2 separate regions of the Homo sapiens genome follow, and region 1 is linked to region 2. Evidence: promoter capture Hi-C in human tissues and cell types (Jung and others, 2019). All regions are on one chromosome and are shown on one strand. The core of a region is centred on a gene start or on the middle of the fragment in contact, and the rest is flanking DNA. Distances in the headings are between cores, read along the strand shown.

Region 1 (5,916 bases), core at 2,841-5,340, 560 kb after region 2:
ACAGAAGATACTCACTGAATATTTGAATGCAATATTTAAATATTACTGAATCCACTGAATTGGATTATCTTAGCAGTTTCCTGACTTTAGTTTTGCTCTCCCCAAATCCATTTTCCACATCACAGCCTAAGGCAACTTTCTGAAACGCCAATACGATGACATCGCTGCCTCTACTAAAAATAGGGTTCACTACTATAATACATTCAGAGAGAGTTCTATCTTTGAGACAGAGAAGACAGACCCTTTATTATCTGGCCTCTGTTTACCATTCCCAGTACATCCCCTCTCCCCTTGTACTCTCTAGCCAGGCTGAACTACTGCCAACGCTTCACACACCAGGCTCTCTTGCGTCTTGAATTTCCTGCACTTGTCCCTCTTCTAGGACACTCATCTTTCCTCCCCAACTTGCCTGGTTAACTCTTACTCATCCTTCAGGTCTACTTAACCATCATTTCCTCTAGAAAAGCCTCCCTGATCTTCCAAAATGAGGTTAGGCTTCCACTCCTATGTGCTCCCACAGTGCTCTCTATCTCACCCCATCCTAGCACCGAGTTGGGATGTCCTGTAATTGTCTGGATACTGACCTGTATCCTTCTCAAGAGTGTAAGTTCCTTGGGGGCATGGCCTTATCTTACTCAGTGATACTGCTACCACTAAGCACAGTGCCTGCTGGCATACTGTAGGTGCTTAATATATATTTACTCAATTCACTTACTATACTGGAAAATCTGCTGGTAAATTCAGAAATCTTTGTTATTCCTTCCATGTTCTCTGCAGTGTTGAACTCAATGTTACCCACAGAACAGGTGCTCAGTAAATACTAGGTAAAACTAGAACTTCCTTAACCCAGTGAAAGTAAAGAGAGAAAAACCAAGGGTGTTCAAGTTTCTTGATGATGGGGTGTATTTATTTAAGGAAAGTAGGAAGGCTGGTTACAAGTTTTAAATTAAAGAGCTACACTTAATAGTTTATAATTAAGTTATATGATCTCTTTCAACATGTCTCCTTGCTATACGGTTGTTAGCATTCAATTTGGGCTATCTGCTCACACAGAGATATTTCAGCCTTTTTTCAAAATACTTATGTTAATATATACGCACTACATGGTTTAATTCTAGGGAATCGCTTTACAAGCTTTCTTTTTTTTTTTTTGAGATGAAATCTCACTTTGTCACCCAGGCTGGAGTGCAGTGGCATGATCTCAGCTCACTGCAACCTCTGCCTCCTGAGTTCAAGCAATTCTCCTGCCTCAGCCTCCTGAGTAGCTGGAAATACAGGCATGTGCCACCATGCCTGGCTAATTTCTTTTGTTTGTTTGTTTTTTTTTTTTGGAGACAGAGTCTGTCACCCAGGCTGGAGTGCAGTGGTGCGATCACGGCTCACTGCAAGCTCCGCCTCCCAGGTTCACGCCATTCTCTTGCCTCAGCCTCCCGAGTAGCTGGGACTACAGGTGCCCGCCACCATGCCCGGGTAATTTTTTTGTATTTTTAGTACAGACGGGATTTCACCGTGTTAGCCAGGATGGTCTCAATTTCCTAACCTCGTGATCCGCCCGCCACGGCCTCCCAAAGTGCGGGCATTAAAGGTGTGAGCCACTGCGCCCGGCCCTCTTCTTTTGTATCTTTAGTAGAGACGGGGTTTCACCATGTTGGCCAGGCTGGTCTCAAACTCCTGACCTCAAGTGATCCACCACGCCCTGCCAGCACTCCATTTTAAAGAGATAGGTGGGCATAGCGGCTCACACCTATAATCCCAATATTTTGGGAGGCCAACGCAGGAGGATTGCTTGAGTCCAGGAGTTTGAGAACAGCCTGGGCAACATAGTAGGCCCATCTCTACAAAAAATTAAATAATTAGCTGGGAACAGTGACGTGCACCTGTGGTCCCAGCTACTCGGGAGGCTAAGGTGAGAGTAATGCTTCAATTCAGCCCAGAGTTTGGGGGCTGCAGCGAGCTGTAATTGTGCCATTGCACTCCAGCCTGGGGACAGAGAAAGACCCTGCCCGCCCCCGCTCCTCCCAAAAAAAGATATATAAACGAGTAAAATTCTTCTGACAAGAAGAACTACCTACTGTCACTGAAAGATAAGTATTATTCTTCTTTGAGGGGAACATCACACTCTGGGGACTGTTGTGGGGTGGGGGGAGGGGGAGGGATAGCATAGGGAGATATACCTAATGCTAGATGACGAGTTAGTGGGTGCAGCGCACCAGCATGGCACATGTATACATATGTAACTAACCTGCACATTGTGCACATGTACCCTAAAACTTAAAGTATAATAATAATTAAAAAAAAAAAGAATTATTCTTCTTTGGTACTATGATAATTTGTATAAAGATATATATACTGTACCCATAAAGTAACACAGCAAGTTTTAAAAATAAACACACTAGAGGTCATTCTTATAAATTAGATTTGTCATCAAAGTAATATCCTTTCGAGGCTCATTTCAGTAAGAGAATCAAAGCTCAAAATGTTTTGGAAAACTTTCTTTGGAAAATGTCTTCAGATCCTTCATCAGTCACTTCTTTCGAACATTCTTATAGATACACATCTTTGGCTTTGAAGGTGTTTGTTTATTTTTACAAGCAACTAGTCATTAGACACCACAGTTTAGGTTAAAGATCATGACATATTAGATTAAAATGTAAGGTATATTTGGATGCAAATTTCCACATGTAAGTTATATACGAGTTCTGAAAACAATGCCAAGAGGAGTTCTAGAAATGTTGAAAAAGAGAGAGAGAAAGAAAACAAGGAAACGTGTTTAAAGAGTCACAGACCACCCCCTCAACTTTTTTCTTTTTTTTTTTGATAAAGAGTATTGCTCTGTTGCCCAGGCTGGAGTGCAGTGGTGGGATCTCAGCTCACTGCAACCTCTTCCTCCCGAGTTCAAGTGATTCTTGTGCCTCAGCCTCCTGAGTAGCTGAGATTACAGGTGTGTGTCACCATGCCCGGCTAATTTTTGTATTTTTAGTAGAGATAGGGTTCCACCATGTTGGCCAGGCTGGTCTTGAACTCCTGACTTCAAGTGATCTGCCCGCCTCGACCTCCCAAAGTGCTGGGATTACAGGCGTGACGCCCGGCTAACCCTCCTGAAAATCTGATTAAAATTACAGTTCCTTTCCCTGGAAACATATGGCTTCCCCATCGCCCTATGCCCTGCAAAACCACTTGCACAGAGTATTAGATAGTCATGAACATGCTGAGGACCCTCTGTGGAGCCACATTTAGACCCCATGATTTAAAGCAGTGGCTTTTTTATTTCCTTTTCTGTTTTTTTTTTTTCCTGTTGTAGCCAACAAGAAAAAAAAGAAAAGGAAGTACCTTGTATACTGTGACCCAGTTTGTGCATATATATATATATATAAAATTAAAAGTTTCACAAAACAATCCTCAACCCTACTAGATGTGATAGTATTCTTTCTTTTTGATTTCATTAAGAAAAATGTTACTCATGACCTACTGCACTAATTTCACAATCTATAACTTGAAAAATACTAATTTAGAATAACTGCTAAATAAATGGAATAAGTTAATGAAAAAGAAAAAACTCACTTGATTATAAAAATTCTGGGCTGGGTGCTATGGCTCATTCTCATATTTTGGAAGACCAGGGCAGTAGGATCGCTTGAGCCCAGGAGTTCGAGACCAGCATGGGCAACAAAGTGAGACCCTGTCTCTACAAAAAAATCAAATTTAGCTTGGTGAGGTGGTGCATGCCTGGGGTCCCAGTGACACAGGAAGCTTAGGCAGGATACTCACTTGAGCCCAGGAGGTTGAGGCTGCAGTGACCCATGTTTGCACCACTGCATTCTAGCCTGGGTGACAGAGCAATACCCTATCTCAAAAAATTAAAATGAAAAATAAAGATTCTGGCTGGACGCAGTGGCTCACGCCTGTAATCCCAGCACTTTGGGAGGCTGAGACAGGCAGATCACAAGGTCAGGAGTTCGAGATCAGCCTGGTCAATATGCTGAAACCCCGTCTCTAGTAAAAATACAAAAATTAGCTGGGTGTGGTGGCACGCACCTATAGTCCCAGCTACTTGGGAGGCTAAGCCAGAAGAATCACCTGAACCTGCGAGGCAGAGGTTGTAGTGAGCCAAGATTGCGCCACCGCACTCCAGCCTGGGTGACAGAGTGAGACTCCATCTCAAAAATAAATAAATAATAAAGAAAAATTTAAAAAAAGATTCTAATATGTTATTTTAAAATAATAAACACAAAAGTTATTTCACTCTATAGTCCAACCTTTCTAGAGATTGGATTCTTTATGGCAAAACTGTGTTGCCTTGGTCATTCATCCACATGGCTTACTACTGGAGATCCCACTGAGTGAATGATACAATGGTCAAAGAAACTCCATACCTTAATATTAGAAAACCATAAATCATTTTCATGTAACGTGGCAAGGTAGACAGATGTAAGAAGTCCAATGCAAAGGGCAATGGTTCCACCAATTGTCAATGACAAAATCTTCCATAATCTTCTACTGGTACAACCTTTTGGAAAAATGGAACAGATAAATAACTAAGTCAGTAAAAAAATCAGAATGTAATAGTTCTACTTCAGATTATCAAGTAAGCTAAGTCTAGCTGCCTGTCACTGGGAAAGCTTTTCCTGTCTCCAGCGGAGGGTCCTTTCTGATTCCACAGACCTGTTTTCATTCTATTACAACTGTTACCCCGTATCTAACTGTCCATGTGTCCATTCTGCCAACTACAACGTGAGCTTCTTGAAGACAAATACATTATCTTATTCATGTTTAATACTGAGGGCCTCTGTCCGGCACAGTTTAACAACCGTAATTTAACTATGAAGTCTGTTAAATGGATGACTAAATGTGTTACGTGTCTAGGACGTAATCGATCTTTTAGATAATCTAGGTACAATTGGTGGCTTATTCTTTAAAAGCTATTTTAAAAACTTGATTACCTAAAAAATAATTATTGTTTTTTGAGACAGGATCTTGTTCTGTTGCCCAAGATGGAATGCAGTAGTGCAATCTCGGTTCACTGCAACCTCTGCCTCCTAGGTTCAAGCAATTCTCCCACCTCAGCCTCCTGAGTAGCTGGGACTACAGGCACATGCCACCATGCCTGGCTAATTTTTGTATTTTTAGTAGATACAGGGTTTCACCATGTTGGCCAGGCTGGTCTTGAACTCCTGACCTCAAGTGATTCACCCACCCAAGCTGGGATCCTAAAGTGCTGGGATTACGGGCATGAGCCACTGCACCTGGCCGATTACCTAAAACTTTTTTTTTAAACCCACAGGTTTTGCAGGAATGCTCTGGGGGGAAAAACCCACAGAATAAATAATCCAACATAACTCAAGTTAAAGGACATATAAACTAGGCAAAATATGGATAGCACATATAAGAAAGCTTAAATACCCTTAACATAAGATGAATACTTTCAGGACAATTTATTTTATTTCAGGACAATTTATTGTCCTGTCAAGATGAATACTGCAGTAGGAAAAAGATTAAGGACATGAACAGGCAATGTACAATAGAAAAAAGTGGCCAATAATAATAACAGACTGAAGATGTTTAAATTCATTAATGTTAAAGAAATGCAAATCAAAACTGTGAGTTATACTTAAATCTTGGCCAATTTGACAGCTTTCAAAATGCTAATACTGTTTTGGTAAGGGTATAAAAAATAGACATCTTCAAACATTGCTGCTAGAAGAATAAATTGGTGCCTCTCTGGAATGCAACATGGCAGCAGTGAGTAAAAGCCACCAAAATGAGCATCCCATTTGGCCAGTAATTCCCAATCTAGGCATGTACCCTGCTGTGGTTTGACTATTCGGCCCCTCCAAATCTCATGATGAAATGTGATTCCCAATGTTGGAGGTGGGGCCTAATGGGAGGTGGTGTGGTGATGGAACCAGAGCCCTTATA
Region 2 (5,950 bases), core at 2,156-4,655:
TCTTATCTCTACTAAAAATACAAAAATTAGCCGGGCATGGTGGTGGGTGCCTGTAATCCCAGGTACTAGGGAGGCTGAGGCAGGAGAATCGCTTGAACCCAGGAGGCAAAGGTTGCAGTAAGCCAAGATTGCACCACTGCACTCCAGCTGGAATGACAGAGCAAGACCCTATCTAAAAAAAAAAAAAAACTGCCCAGGCATGGTGGCTCACACCTGTAATCCCAGCACTTTGGGAGGCCAAGGTGGGCGGATCATGAGGTCAGGAGTTTGAGACCAGCCTGGCCAATATGGTGAAACCCTGTCTACTAAAAATACAAAAATTAGCCGGGTGTGGTGGTGCGTGCCTGTAGTCCCAGCTACTCGGGAGGCTGAGGCAGAAGAATGGCTTGAACCCGGGAGGTGGAGATGGCAGTGAGCCAAGATTGTACCACTGCACTCTGGCCTGTAGGACAGAGCGAGACTCCGCCTCAAAAAAAAGGGAAAAAAAAAAAACTTGCACAAGGTGCTGATGCTTAACAAAAATACGGGATGAGACAAAGCAGCTTCTAGTTAACATTTTCTTTCTTTCTTTCTTTTTTTGAGACAAAGTTTCGCTCCTGTTGCTCAGGCTGGAGTGCAATGGAGCATCTCCACTCACTGCAACCTCCACCTCCTCAGTTCAGGTGATTCTCCTGCCTCAGCCTCCGGAGTAGCTGGGATTACATGCACCCACCACCACGCCCAGCTAATTTTTGTATTTTTAGTAGAGACAGGGTTTTGCCATGTTGGCCAGGCTGGTCTCGAACTGCTGGCCTCAAGTGATCCTCCCGCCTCCGCCTCCCAAAGTGCTGGGATTACAAGCATGAGCCATCACGCCTGGCCTCTAGGTTGACGTTTTCACCAGCGAAAGGGCAGGATAATGACTGATGGAGCCATCACACCCTGAGAATCTAAAATCAGGTCTCCAACTTGTATACTTTGTGATACACTTGCCTGGAGTGTGTGACAAGCTGAGCTGGCTGCAGAGGCAGCTTCCGCATTTAAATTCCTCGAAGAGATTTTATAAACCAAGTCAGAGAATGACATAGATTGGATTGATGGTTGCTTCTGGAGAGCAGCTGAGTGTCCATGAGGACAGGACTACCACGAAGGTGTAGGAATCGGTACTCACCAACTGGATGACGAGGCAGGATGCTTCCATCTGGCTGGCCACTGGAAGCAGCACCATTCCAAGGTCCAGCACAGTAAACTTCTGTAGGGCTGGGAAGTATTGTTCACTCATCCGGGTTTTTTCAACGACTACAATTCCTTTAAGATTATTGGACTTGAAAGGAAAAAAGACAGTAAGTCATTTTGCAACCAAATTGCTTTTCAGGTTAAGAATGCTATCACTTCGTGCCTGACCTGGCCAATGATTTTAAATAAATGATACCAAGGGATGGAGGGAAGGGTGGGGTGAGACAAATCAATGTTCGAGTTTCTTTAATCCAATGCTTACATTTCTTTTTTGTTTTTGTTTTTTGTTTTTTGAGTTGGAATCTCACTCTGTCGCCCAGGCTGGAGTGCAGTGGCGTGATCTCGGCTCACTACAGCCTCTGCCTCCCAGGCTCAAGCAATTCTCCCGTCTCAGCCTCCCTAGTAGCTGGGATTACAGGCGTGCGCCACCATACTCAGCTAATTTTTGTATTTTTAGCAGAGACAGGGTTTCACCATGTTGGCCAGGCTGGTCTCCAACTACTGACCTCAGGTGATCCACCCGCCTTGGCCTCCCAAAGTGCTGGGATTACTGGCGTGAGCCACAGCACCCAGCCTAATACTTACATTTCTAACCCGAACAAGCCTCTTTCTGTAGCCATTTCCTGCCACCAAATCAGCTTCGGTGACATAAAGAATGCAGCATCTGTTCGACAGATAAAAGTCTGGTGTCAAGCCATCCTCGAAAATGAGCTTAATTTTCCCTTAAAATACAGAGAAGAAAATGAGTTCCATAAGCTTTGGATGAAAAGATGGCAATAATAGGCAGATTTTTTTTTTTTAATATGTCAGGGGAGGAAAGGGCTGGCAGAGGGCAGGCCACCGACCTTGCATCTCCTGCGCCAGCTGTGACCCGCGCCATTTCTCATTGGCCACAATATGCCCCAAAGGCACGTGCACGGGGCCCGTATCATCAGGGGGGTTCTTTTCCATGGATGGTCTCCACCTAAGGAGGGAAAAGCCAGGCGGCACTTGAGCAGGCTCTCCTGCACACGGCCCTGCATTCCACTCCAAGCCAGGGCCTCTGGGGCAGGATCCCCTCTGCAAACTGAATTATTTGTCAAAGAACTGTCAAATAAGATTCCCTTTATAATTACTAATAAGAAAACACAGGCTGGGCGCGGTGGCTCACACCTGTAATCCCAGCACTTTGGGAGGCCGAGCGAGGCGGGTGGATCACAAGGTCAGGAGTTCAAGACCAGCCTGGCCAAGATAGTGAAACCGCGTCTCTACTAAAAATACAAAAAAATTAGCCGGGCTTGGTGGTGGGCACCTGTAATCCCAGCCACTTGGGAGGCTGAGGCAGAGAATTGCTTGAATCCGGAAGGCGGAGGTTGCAGTGAGCCGAGATCGCGCCACTGCACTCCAGCCTGGGCGACAGAGCAAGACTCGTCTCAAAAAAAAAAAAAAAAAAGAAAAGAAAAAGAAAACACAAAGGCCTGAATGAAGGCCAGGGTGGCTGGAGACGGGATGTGTGGTGGTGGAGGTGGTAATGGCATTGGATTCCAATAAGGCCAGAGGCACGATCAGATTTAAGTTTTAAAAGAATCCTGGGCTGGGCATGGTAGCTCACGTCTGTAATCCCAACATTGGGCAAGGCTGAGGCGTGAGGATCGCTTGTGCCCAGGAGTTCGAGACCAGCCTGAGCAATACAGCGAGATCCCGTTTGCCAATTATTTGTGGCGAAATAAATTCTCTAAGAACCAGGAGATTCCTGTCCTGGTGTCCGCGTCCTTCATTTTCATCACGTGCCTAGCCCCTGATACCCCAGCTGGATCCGCACCGTAGCTTCTCAGTCCAGTCCAAGGCCCGAATACAGCCGGCAGGAACCCCACCGTCCCAGTCTAGAGATCATGTTACTGGTGGCCGCGCCACCTTCCGGGTTCACGCCCTCGGTGCTCGCCCAGTCCTTCATCCAGCCCGCCCTCCGCCTCCCGCAGCGCCGGATAGGCTGTGGCGTCAGAAATGGACGTCTAACCTGACCAATAAGAGAACGGATAAGGGCGGACGTTTCCGCCCTGGCGGGGATTTGAACGGTACCCACTGGTTGCCAAGAACGACCGGTGTGGAAGTAACCTTAGCTCTGATTGGTCGAGGGCCGAGCTGAGCCAATGGCCGACGTGGTTGCTGCAAAGTCCATTGCGAAGAGAAAGCGTGAGGGCTGGGCCTGCGGCGGGCTTTAGGGAGTGGTCCCTGGCTGTGGATAGATCTGCTGATGAGTCCAGGCCCCGGTCCATTCTCCTCGCGCTGCAAGGATGCTCCTGGGATTTCGGAGAGGCCGCAGGAGTCATTTCGTAAGTAGATGCTCGCCCGCCGCGCGTGGGGCTCTGTGGGGCCGGGAATTAGGGGTAAAGTGTTGGGGCGGGTTGGGGTTTGGCCTGAGATCCAGTCAAGGGGGCGGCACAAGAGAAAGTGGTTTTCAGTTGAGGAAGCCTTGATTTTTCGTGTTCTAAACTTTTTTTTTTTTTTTTAAGAAACAGGGTCTCGCTCTGTCGCCCAGGCTAGAGTGCAGTGGTGCGATCATAGCTCACTGCATCCTCGAACTCCTGGGCTCAAGCGATCTTCCCACCCCAGCCTCCCGAGGAGCTGAGACTACAGGCGCGCGCCACTACTCCCGGCTAATTGTTCAATATTTTTGTGGAAACAGGGATCTTGCTATGTTCCTATGGTGGTCTTGAGCTCCTTAGCCTCCTAAAGTGTTGGTATCACAGGCGTGAGCCACTGTGCCCGGCGTTAACAATCTTCTGCCCCAGGGTCGGCCACAGTTGGACAGGAGCACCCTGCCTCCCCTGTAGCATTCGTCCCCGTGCCCGGAGTTAACTCCTGGACGACGTACACCTGCTGCACTGCTGGATATAGCCATTCTTCATTTTTCCCTCCTCCACCCACCATGTACACCCCATCAGCAAGTCCCATCCGATATACCCACTACATACATCTGCCAGCTGTTCCCATCTCCACCCACACCCCGGCCTCCAGCATCTGTCTGGACTGCTGCGGCAGATCCTCACTGGTTTCTCTGCTTCCACTCTCGCCCTTCCCCTAGGTCCATTCTCCACGTAGCAGCCAAGGGGATTCTTATATTTATTTATTATTTAATTTAGTTTTAGAGACAGGGTCTTGTCCTGATGCCCAGGCTGGAGTACAGTGGCATGATCATAGCTCACTGTGGCTTCAACCTCTTGGGTTCAAGTGATCCTCCTGCCTCAGGCTCCTGAGTAGCTGGGACTACAGGTGTGCACCACCACACCTAGGTATTTTTTATTTATTTTATTTTTTGCCTCACACTCTGCCAAGTCTCAATGCCTGGCTAATTTTAAAAATTATTTTGTAGAGGCCACGTGAGGTGGCTCTCACCTGTAATCCAGCACTTTGGGAGGCTGAGGCAGGCGGATCATTTGAGGTCAGGAGTTCAAGATTAGCCTGGCCAACATGGTGAAAACCCATCTCTACTAAAAATACAAAAATTAGCGGGCGTGGTGGTGGGCACCTGTAATCCCAGCTACACGGGAGGTTGAGGTGGGATAATCGCTTAAACCCGAGAGGCAGAGGTTGCAGTGAGCCAAGATTGTGCCACTGCACTCCAGCCTGGGCGACAAAGCTAGACTCTGCCTCAAAAAAACATAATTTTTTTTTTTTGGTAGAGATGGGGTCTGGGTATGCTGCCCAGGCTGGTCTTAAACCTTGGCTCAAGCAATCCTCTCACCTTGGCCTCCAGAGTGTTGGGATTACAGGTGTGAGCCACTGCATCTGGCTTGAGTTTTTATTTAAAGCCCCAAACATTAATGAGTCCCTGCTGTGTGCTGATACCCACAACTGACAGCTTATGGCCACACGGTCTGTAGGATAGACAAGCCCATAAATAATTCTGTACACAATGGTAAAACAAGAACTGCTGTTGATGTGTGTACCAGAAGGGCAGTGACGTCAGCCTGGAGAGTTGGCCTGGGCCTGGCAGGGAGTAAGGAAAGAATTCTGGGTGCAGAAGACAGCAAATACCAAGGCCTAAAAAAGAATGAATTATTTGCTGTTTGGGAAATGGAAGCCCACGCTGAGTGCTGAAGCACAGGGACTCTGCGCAGGAAGAGGAGGGGAAGCAAGAAATGAATTTGGGTCCTTGTGATGGCAGTGGCTGCTGCCATCACGCTGTGTGGCTAGGGCTGCACACTTCATGGAGCCGGTGGAAGCCCCGTCCCTCATGAGTTGGGACTGGAGCCGCAAACCGCTGCTGCAGACCCAGGCCTTCTGCTCTATGGAGCAGGCAGGAGCCCCACCCTCTTGGGCAGGGCTACAGCCACCCAAACTGCAGCTGTGGATCCGAGCCTCTCTGCTCCTGGGGGAGCCGGGAACAGGCAGAATTTGCCCTTCCAGATGCAGCTGCAGCCGCGCAGGCAGGAGCCAGGGACAAGTGGGAGCCCTGCCTCTTCCAAGTTGGCGGGGTGGGAGCTCCCAGGTGCAGCTGTGGCTGCCCCCCCAGGCACAGGACGAGGGCATCTCTGTAGCCTGCACCATCGGCCATCCCAGGAAGGACAGCCCCCTTCACCCTCCATCCCTGCAGGCTCAGGGGTGTCTGCTTCCACTGCCTGGCCTCTCTCCACTCCAGCAACTGCTCTGATCTTGGAGGGGAGTCGGAGCCAAGACCTGCAGCCATGAATGGCAGCAGGAGGAAGGGGGTGGGGTCCCCAGTAAGGCCCCACCCTCAGGCCAGGGAGGGCCT

What was found. The method cuts DNA at HindIII sites, captures the fragments that hold promoters and counts their contacts. A contact is called where the count stands out against the background at its distance.
Region 1: a contact is called between a fragment that was not itself captured here and the fragment with the promoter of CEP89 in region 2, in 1 of the 25 tissues and cell types used here (dorsolateral prefrontal cortex).

The regions. Positions count from the first base shown.
Region 1 is chr19:32,409,830-32,415,745 of GRCh38, reverse strand. DPY19L3 (dpy-19 like C-mannosyltransferase 3) reads right to left here. Exons shown (of 19, transcript NM_001172774.2): 3 at 4,374-4,507. Among named protein-coding and RNA genes, the nearest start is that of DPY19L3, 7.0 kb to the right of the region's middle. The HindIII fragment of the contact is 3,296 bases long and covers 2,443-5,738 here.
Region 2 is chr19:32,969,413-32,975,362 of GRCh38, reverse strand. It overlaps CEP89 (centrosomal protein 89), which reads left to right and starts at 3,405. Exons shown (of 19, transcript NM_032816.5): 1 at 3,405-3,527. The coding sequence starts at 3,489. FAAP24 (FA core complex associated protein 24) reads right to left here and starts at 3,121. Exons shown (of 5, transcript NM_152266.5): 1 at 3,017-3,121; 2 at 2,061-2,179; 3 at 1,801-1,937; 4 at 1,151-1,303. The coding sequence starts at 2,166. RefSeq lists enhancers at 2,948-2,997, 3,378-3,597 and a silencer at 3,138-3,267. The HindIII fragment of the contact is 5,065 bases long and covers 2-5,066 here.